2 separate regions of the Homo sapiens genome follow, and region 2 is linked to region 1. Evidence: promoter capture Hi-C in human tissues and cell types (Jung and others, 2019). All regions are on one chromosome and are shown on one strand. Each heading gives the region's core, a stretch centred on a gene start or on the middle of the fragment in contact. The rest is flanking DNA. Distances are from core to core; before and after follow the strand shown.

Region 1 (3,891 bases), core at 698-3,197:
CTTTATTAAACCTCATTTTTTTATTTTTTATTTTTAGTTATTTTATTTGGAGACACAGTCTCACTCTGTCACTCAGGCTGGAGTGCAGTGGCACGATCTCGGCTCACTGCAACCTCTGCCTCCTGGGTTCAAGCCATTCTCATGTCTCAGCCTCCAGAGAAGCTGGGACTACAGGCATGCGCCAGTCATGATTGAATAATTTTTGTATTTTTTGGTAGAGATGAGGTTTCACCATGTTGGCCAGGCTGGTCTTGAACTCCTGACCTCAGGTGATTCACCCCCGTGGGCCTCCCAAAGTGCTGGGATTACAGGCATGAGCCACTGCGCCCAGCTAAAACCTCATTTTTTATACAGATGGGTCTTGCTGTGACACCCAGGTTGGAGTGCAGTGGTGTGATCATAGCTCACTGCAGCCTCGACATCCTGGGGTCAAACAATCCTCCCACCTCAACCTCCTGGGTAGCTGGGACTACAGGCATGCTCCACCATGCCTGGGTAATATCTTTTATTTTTTAAGAGACAGGGTCTTGTTACATTGCCCAGGCTGGTCTTGAACTCCTGGCCTCAAGTGGTCCTCCCGCCTTGGCCTCGTAAAGTAGTGGGATTATAGGCACAAGCCACCGTGGCTGGCAAAACCTCATTCTTGAAACTCACCAGCAAACTATTCTACTGTGGAACCCAAGTTTTCTTCATTCCTCACTATCCTAAATTACATAGTACTAGTGACAACTGTTCACCTGCAGTTTGAAGACCCTAAGCCAGTTCTCTGCTTGTGTTTCTGGATACATCTGTTCTTTGTCGTTCTTCCTTCGTATGTGGAGCCATCCTCAAAGCACTGGGGTCATCCTGCTTAACAATAAAAAGAGCTACCATTTATTGATTGCTTATTCAATGCAGACACAGTTCTCACTACTTCATAAGCTGCAATTTTATCTGGTCTTCACAGGAACTGTTATTATCTCTGTTTCATGCCTAGGGACACTGAAGCATAGAGAAGTTACCTGACCAAAGTCACGTAGTTAGTGGCAAAACCAAGATTCAAACTCAGGCAGTCTGGCTCTGCCTTGAGGCAGACTGCACAGTCTCCACCTTCTCTATTTTTTGCCTCGGAGCACCTGGCCAATTATCCCTTGGCCAACCTCACATGACTATTAACTCCAGAGTCAGCCATCTCTGAGCTCCAATTCCACCACTGCTAGCTGTGTAATCTTAATCGAGTTCTTTATTCTTTATTAGGTCTAGTCCTCAATTTCATCATCTGTAAAATGGGCACATAATAGATTCTATTTCTAATTCTCACAGAGTTGCTATGAGAATTAATTGAGCTGATATGAGTAAAATGCCTGACATTGAGAAGGCATTGGATGCTAGTACTATTAGTCATCTAATTACATGTTGTTTGTCTGTGGAACAGAGCACCTAGGTTCTTTTCCTGGGATCCATAAGCCAGCATGGGGGAGGGTTACAGGCAGGCAAATGTTTTGTGTGTACATTTATTTTTTCTGGGGAGAAAGTCCATAAGTTTGATCATATTCTCAAAAGAGTATATGACCCCCAAAAGTTGGGAACCACTGAGCTTTAAATGAGTCTAAAAGGGCCCCAGCACGGTGGCTCATGTCTGTAATCCCAGCACTTAGAGAGGCTGAGGAAGGCGGATCGCCTGAGGTCAGGAGTTCAAGACCAGCCTGGCCAACATGGCGAAACCTCGTCTCTATTAAAAATACAAAAATTAGCCCAGCATGTCAGCGTGAGCCTGTAATCCCAGCTACTTGGGAGGCTGAGGCAGGAGAATAGCTTGACCCAGGGAGACGGAGGTTGCAGTGAGTCGAGATCATGCCACTGCCCTCTGGCCTGGGTGACGGAGCAAGACTCCGTCTCAAAAATAAATAAATAAATACATAAATAAATAAACCTAAAGTTTGAGACCTGCGTCTTTTACATTTCCTGCCCTCAGCATAGCCAGGGATACAGCAAGCTTTCACTGATGTGCATGGAATTGAATCCTCACTGGAACGTAGCAGCTGGGTCAAGGCCGTGGACAGTAGGGTTCCTGACATTGTCACCTGTCTTCATTCCACACAAAGATGCCCACTGTGAAAAGTTTTCTGAAATCACTTCTTCAGTCCAATAACAACATTTCAAAGCTGAGTATTTCACGTGCTGCATTGGGAAAGGGTGCTGATTACATCCCTCAAACTGCACAACTGTGACCGTCACTGCTGGCTGATACTTCGCAGAAGGGCGCAGGGGGCAACTGTTGATGTGGCAGGGCTATGTTAGCATTCTTTACCTTACCTTCGCTTGAGGACTTAAGATAATAGCAGCTACCACAGAAATAATGGAAACAAAAATTCTTTTATTTTAATTTGTATCCGTTCTTACGGTTTCTTTATACTCCTCCTCAATTCAAAATGAATCTAAGCACATTTAGATATTGATTCCAATTAAGATATTTAATATGTCTTATCTTCTGTAAACTAGTCCATTTTGTGTTGATATAAAGGAATTCCAGAAATTGGGTAACTTATTTACAAAAAAAAAAAAGGAGGTTTTTTTGGCTCATAGTTCTGCAGGCTGTACAAGAAGCACAGTGCTGGCATCTGCTTCTGGGTGGGGAAGCCCAGGAAGCTCACAGCCATAGCAGAAGGGGAAAAGGCAACAGGTATGTCACATGGCAAGAAAGGGAGCAAGAGGGATGCCAAGATCTTTTAAACAGCCAGCTCCCACATGAGCTAATAGCATATTATTATGTCAGGACTTATCCGCTTGGAAGTGACAAAAAAAATTCAAACTAGCTTAAACAGAAAGGATATTTGTGGGCTCAGGCAGAGCTAGAGCCAGGGGTTCAACCAATGTCACTGGGACTCTCTTTCCTTCTCTTTGTCTTTGAGCTCTGCTTTCCTGCTGAAGGCTGGCCTCTTCTTCTCGCACTGGAAAAGGACTTCCTCCCTATAGCTGGAGAAAGTGCCACTTAATAGCCTCAAGCTTATATTGTCTGAGCCAAAGACCACCAGCAAAAGAGAACTTCTTGGTATTCCAATTATAGACAAAGATTCTTCCATCACATGCGCAGCTGTTGCCAGGGGCATAAGATGATCTGATTGGCCAAGCCCAGGTCACTTCCCTTTCCCTATAGATGGGGACAGAGTGGGAGGCTGGGGTTGACAGCCCCAGGAGAACCACAGGGGGACAGGGAAGAGCAGTGAGCAGATGAAGCAATACGTGTCCATTTATACATTTGCCTTTGTGTTAAAATAACAAGAACTTGATGAGAAAGACCAAACTGGACAGCACTCATGGGGTGGGAAGGACTCCTCTCTGGGACATAATTGACCATATGTAAGGTCTAGCTGTTAAAAAATCTACTATAGTCATAAGCATAACCTATAAGATCGTATTTCTAGAACAGAGGAGGTAAGCCTCCCTCCAGAGGAGCCCTTGTTCATACAGTACTGAAGGACAGCCACAATGGACGAGGGTGTCAATTTGTTCTGCAGATGAGATGAGGACCGATGAGCAAAGATTAAAAGACAGAACAGTGGCAAATGTTACTGGCTTGGGACTGGTTTCTTAAGCTAGAGGGAACTTTTAGGAATGACCTAAGGCAGCGGTCCCCAACCTTGTTGGCACCAAGGACTAGTTTCGTGGAAGACAATTTTTCTACAGATGTGGGGCAGCAAGGCAGCGTGGTTTAGTGATGAAACTGTTCCACCTTAGATCATCAGGCATTAGACAGATTCTCATAAGGAGTGCGCAACTTAGATCCCTCGCATGCACAGTTCATAAAAGGGTTCGCACTCCTATGAGAATCTAATCCTGCTGCTGATCTGACAGGAGGCTGAGCTCAGGTGGTAATTGTTCACATGCCGCTCACCTCTTGCAATGCGGCTC
Region 2 (3,891 bases), core at 1,392-3,891, 85 kb before region 1:
GTACGGGTGTGTGGAGTGTTGAGGGGCACAATTGGAGAGAAGGGAAGTGTGAACACACCGGGGTAGTGGTAGCAGAAGGGCCCGGTCAGGGTATGAAGAGCTGAGGCTGCACCTGAAAACTTAGAAGCAGGAACTCCCTGTCAAGCATACCCTACATGGCTGACCTTTACTTAGTGACAGTTCTCAAAAGGCGGAGCAGGGCGCCGCTGCGCTCCCCCAAAACATACATGTATGGAGACGTGGCTCTGCCACCCACCATTCAGTCTATTCTCTAAGCCAATGAGAATGCAACAAGACCAGAATGGGACTGAGGGTGGCCTGTGGTGACCTGTCAGGGACTATTTAAACCAGCCGCAAATCATGTGGGCAGGGAACAGATGCCTGGCTGGCCACCTCAGGGGCCATCTCCCACAGTTTGCTGTACTAGCAGGTCTCTGTTCGCTTGTGAGTGTTTTTAATCATGGTCAGCTTTTAGTGTGGGTTTGAATGTAACAGACTGAGCTTAGAAAAGCTTTCTGTAAGGAAAGGTAAGAGTTGAACTGAGCAAGAGTTTTGAAAAATAGTGACAATCCCATTCTCCTTTGGAATGCGCACAAATATTGAGGTATCCAGTGAACGGCAGCAAATTTCCTACCTTCAAGGCCCAAATGTAAGCTAGTCCCCTTACGTTACATGCAGCTCATTTGCTAAGTGGTTTTTTTCTAGTATCTCCACTACTCGCTGACACAGGAGGACACAGGATGTTAAAAAGGAAATACAGTTCTGTCAATTATTCACTTACTCTCCAAAATACTTGGAAGAACTAAATATGGAACCATAGGAGACTTTATCCTCACCGCATAGTCCCTATACTAGTCAAACTCCTTATTTTTTAATTGATCATTTTTAGGAAGGTAGCATTTTATTCACTAGAACATTTTTGTTAATACTTGTTTATTTTTGGGATGAACTGCCATGATGTGGGCTACAGAGGAGGGTCGCATATGCTTCCATCCCCCTTTTAGAGAATCCACACCTGTCCCAGTTGCTGGGTTCCACTACCAAAAGTGAATTGCAACTATTTTAGGAGCACTTAAGCACATCCGAAAAATGAGTGATTCTGTTCTGGCCCACACCACATCACTGATGTACCCCCTTAAAGCATGTCCCTGAGTTCATCACAGAAGACTGCTCCTCCTGTGCCCTCCACAAGGTTAGAACTGTCCTTGTCTTAGGGAAAAAGGAGAGAGAGAGAGAGAGAGAGAGAGAGAGAGAGAGAGAGAGAGAGAGAGAGGGACAGGCACCAACTGGGTAACCTCTGCTGACCCCCACTCTACTTTACCATAAGTAGCTCCAAATCCTTCTAGAAAATCTGAAAGGCATAGCCCCATATATCAGTGATATAAATAGAACCTGCAGCAGGCTCTGGTAAATGATGACTACAAGGTGGACTGGGAGGCAGCCCGGCCTTGGCAGGCATCATCCTCTAAATATAAAGATGAGTTTGTTCAGCCTTTGCAGAAGGAAAAACTGCCACCCATCCTAGAGTGCCGCGTCCTTGTCCCCCCACCCCCTCCAATTTATTGGGAGGAAGGACCAGCTAAGCCTCATCTAGGAAGAGCCCCTCACCCATCTCCACCTCCACTCCAGGTCTAGCCAGTCCTGGGTTGTGACCCTTGTCTTTCAGCCCCAGGAGAGGGACACACATAGTGCCACCAAAGAGGCTGGGGGAGGGCCTCAGCCCACCAAAACCTGGGGCCAGTGCGTCCTACAGGAGGGGAACCCTCACCCCTTCAATCCCTTTAGGAGACCCAAGGGCGCTGCGCGTCCCTGAGGCGGACAGCTCCGTGTGCTCAGGCTTTGCGCCTGACAGGCCTATCCCCGGGAGCCCCCGCGCCTCCTCCCCGGCGCTCCGCCCTCGCCTCCCCCCGCCAGTTGTCTATCCTGCGACAGCTGCGCGCCCTCCGGCCGCCGGTGGCCCTCTGTGCGGTGGGGGAAGGGGTCGACGTGGCTCAGCTTTTTGGATTCAGGGAGCTCGGGGGTGGGAAGAGAGAAATGGAGTTCCAGGGGCGTAAAGGAGAGGGAGTTCGCCTTCCTTCCCTTCCTGAGACTCAGGAGTGACTGCTTCTCCAATCCTCCCAAGCCCACCACTCCACACGACTCCCTCTTCCCGGTAGTCGCAAGTGGGAGTTTGGGGATCTGAGCAAAGAACCCGAAGAGGAGTTGAAATATTGGAAGTCAGCAGTCAGGCACCTTCCCGAGCGCCCAGGGCGCTCAGAGTGGACATGGTTGGGGAGGCCTTTGGGACAGGTGCGGTTCCCGGAGCGCAGGCGCACACATGCACCCACCGGCGAACGCGGTGACCCTCGCCCCACCCCATCCCCTCCGGCGGGCAACTGGGTCGGGTCAGGAGGGGCAAACCCGCTAGGGAGACACTCCATATACGGCCCGGCCCGCGTTACCTGGGACCGGGCCAACCCGCTCCTTCTTTGGTCAACGCAGGGGACCCGGGCGGGGGCCCAGGCCGCGAACCGGCCGAGGGAGGGGGCTCTAGTGCCCAACACCCAAATATGGCTCGAGAAGGGCAGCGACATTCCTGCGGGGTGGCGCGGAGGGAATGCCCGCGGGCTATATAAAACCTGAGCAGAGGGACAAGCGGCCACCGCAGCGGACAGCGCCAAGTGAAGCCTCGCTTCCCCTCCGCGGCGACCAGGGCCCGAGCCGAGAGTAGCAGTTGTAGCTACCCGCCCAGGTAGGGCAGGAGTTGGGAGGGGACAGGGGGACAGGGCACTACCGAGGGGAACCTGAAGGACTCCGGGGCAGAACCCAGTCGGTTCACCTGGTCAGCCCCAGGCCTGCGCCCTGAGCGCTGTGCCTCGTCTCCGGAGCCACACGCGCTTTAAAAAGGAGGCAAGACAGTCAGCCTCTGGAAATTAGACTTCTCCAAATTTTTCTCTAGCCCCTTTGGGCTCCTTTACCTGGCATGTAGGATGTGCCTAGGGAGATAAACGGTTTTGCTTTAGTTGTCGCCAAGGCAGTTCCCTTCCAAACTAGCGCTAGAGCGAATGAGCGAGCAGCCAGGACCACCCATTCTGGGTTTCCAACAGGCGAAAAGGCCCTTTCTGAGTTTGAAATGTCACAGGGTTCCTAACAGGCCACTCTTCCCTGGATGGGGTGCCAACGCCTTTCCCATGGGCATCTCCTTCCACCCTCACGCTGGCCCAGCAAGCAGGCAGTGCTGAGGCCTTATCTCCCTAGGTGACAGATGTGGTCAGGGAGGCGCAGAGAGGATGGGCACTAGCGTCCAGCTCCTGGAACAGGTGTCAGGCAGGGAGGGCAGACAGGTCTTGGGGAACATGTTCCCCTGGCTATGTGGACAGAGGACTTCTCAGTGGGGTCTCGCGACCCTGTGCCCCTTTTCCTGGTTCAGGGCAGCCCTTAGCCGGGGCAAAGGTCGAGAAGAGAACCCCTGGTCGCCGCCCTGGCAGAATTTGAGTGGCTCCGGCAGGAGATGTCCCTAGGTTCCTGGGGAGGGAGGACGTCGGGGCCAGCCAGGCTTACCCCCCCCTGCCGCTGAGACTTCTGCGCTGATGCACCGCGCCTCTTCGCGGTCTCCCTGTCCTTGCAGAAACTAGACACAATGTGCGACGAAGACGAGACCACCGCCCTCGTGTGCGACAATGGCTCCGGCCTGGTGAAAGCCGGCTTCGCCGGGGATGACGCCCCTAGGGCCGTGTTCCCGTCCATCGTGGGCCGCCCCCGACACCAGGTCAGGCTGCCCCTCCGCAGAGGGAGCCGGCTCGGGGTCCCCGCGTAAGCCAGCCTGGTGCCACCCGGAGCGGCGTTAACGGGTGCGTGGTGTCTCGGCTCTGCAGGGCGTCATGGTCGGTATGGGTCAGAAAGATTCCTACG

What was found. Contacts are between HindIII fragments. The study calls those that stand out against the background at their distance.
Region 2: the fragment with the promoter of ACTA1 here is called in contact with a fragment that was not itself captured in region 1 in 2 of the 25 tissues and cell types used here (dorsolateral prefrontal cortex and mesendoderm cells).

The regions. Positions count from the first base shown.
Region 1 is chr1:229,346,945-229,350,835 of GRCh38, reverse strand. No RefSeq gene overlaps it. Among named protein-coding and RNA genes, the nearest start is that of CCSAP, 5.8 kb to the right of the region's middle. The HindIII fragment of the contact is 6,415 bases long and covers 1-3,891 here.
Region 2 is chr1:229,432,844-229,436,734 of GRCh38, reverse strand. It overlaps ACTA1 (actin alpha 1, skeletal muscle), which reads left to right and starts at 2,641. Exons shown (of 7, transcript NM_001100.4): 1 at 2,641-2,731; 2 at 3,608-3,748; 3 at 3,855-3,891. The coding sequence starts at 3,620. RefSeq lists a silencer at 2,639-2,933. The HindIII fragment of the contact is 14,149 bases long and covers 1-3,891 here.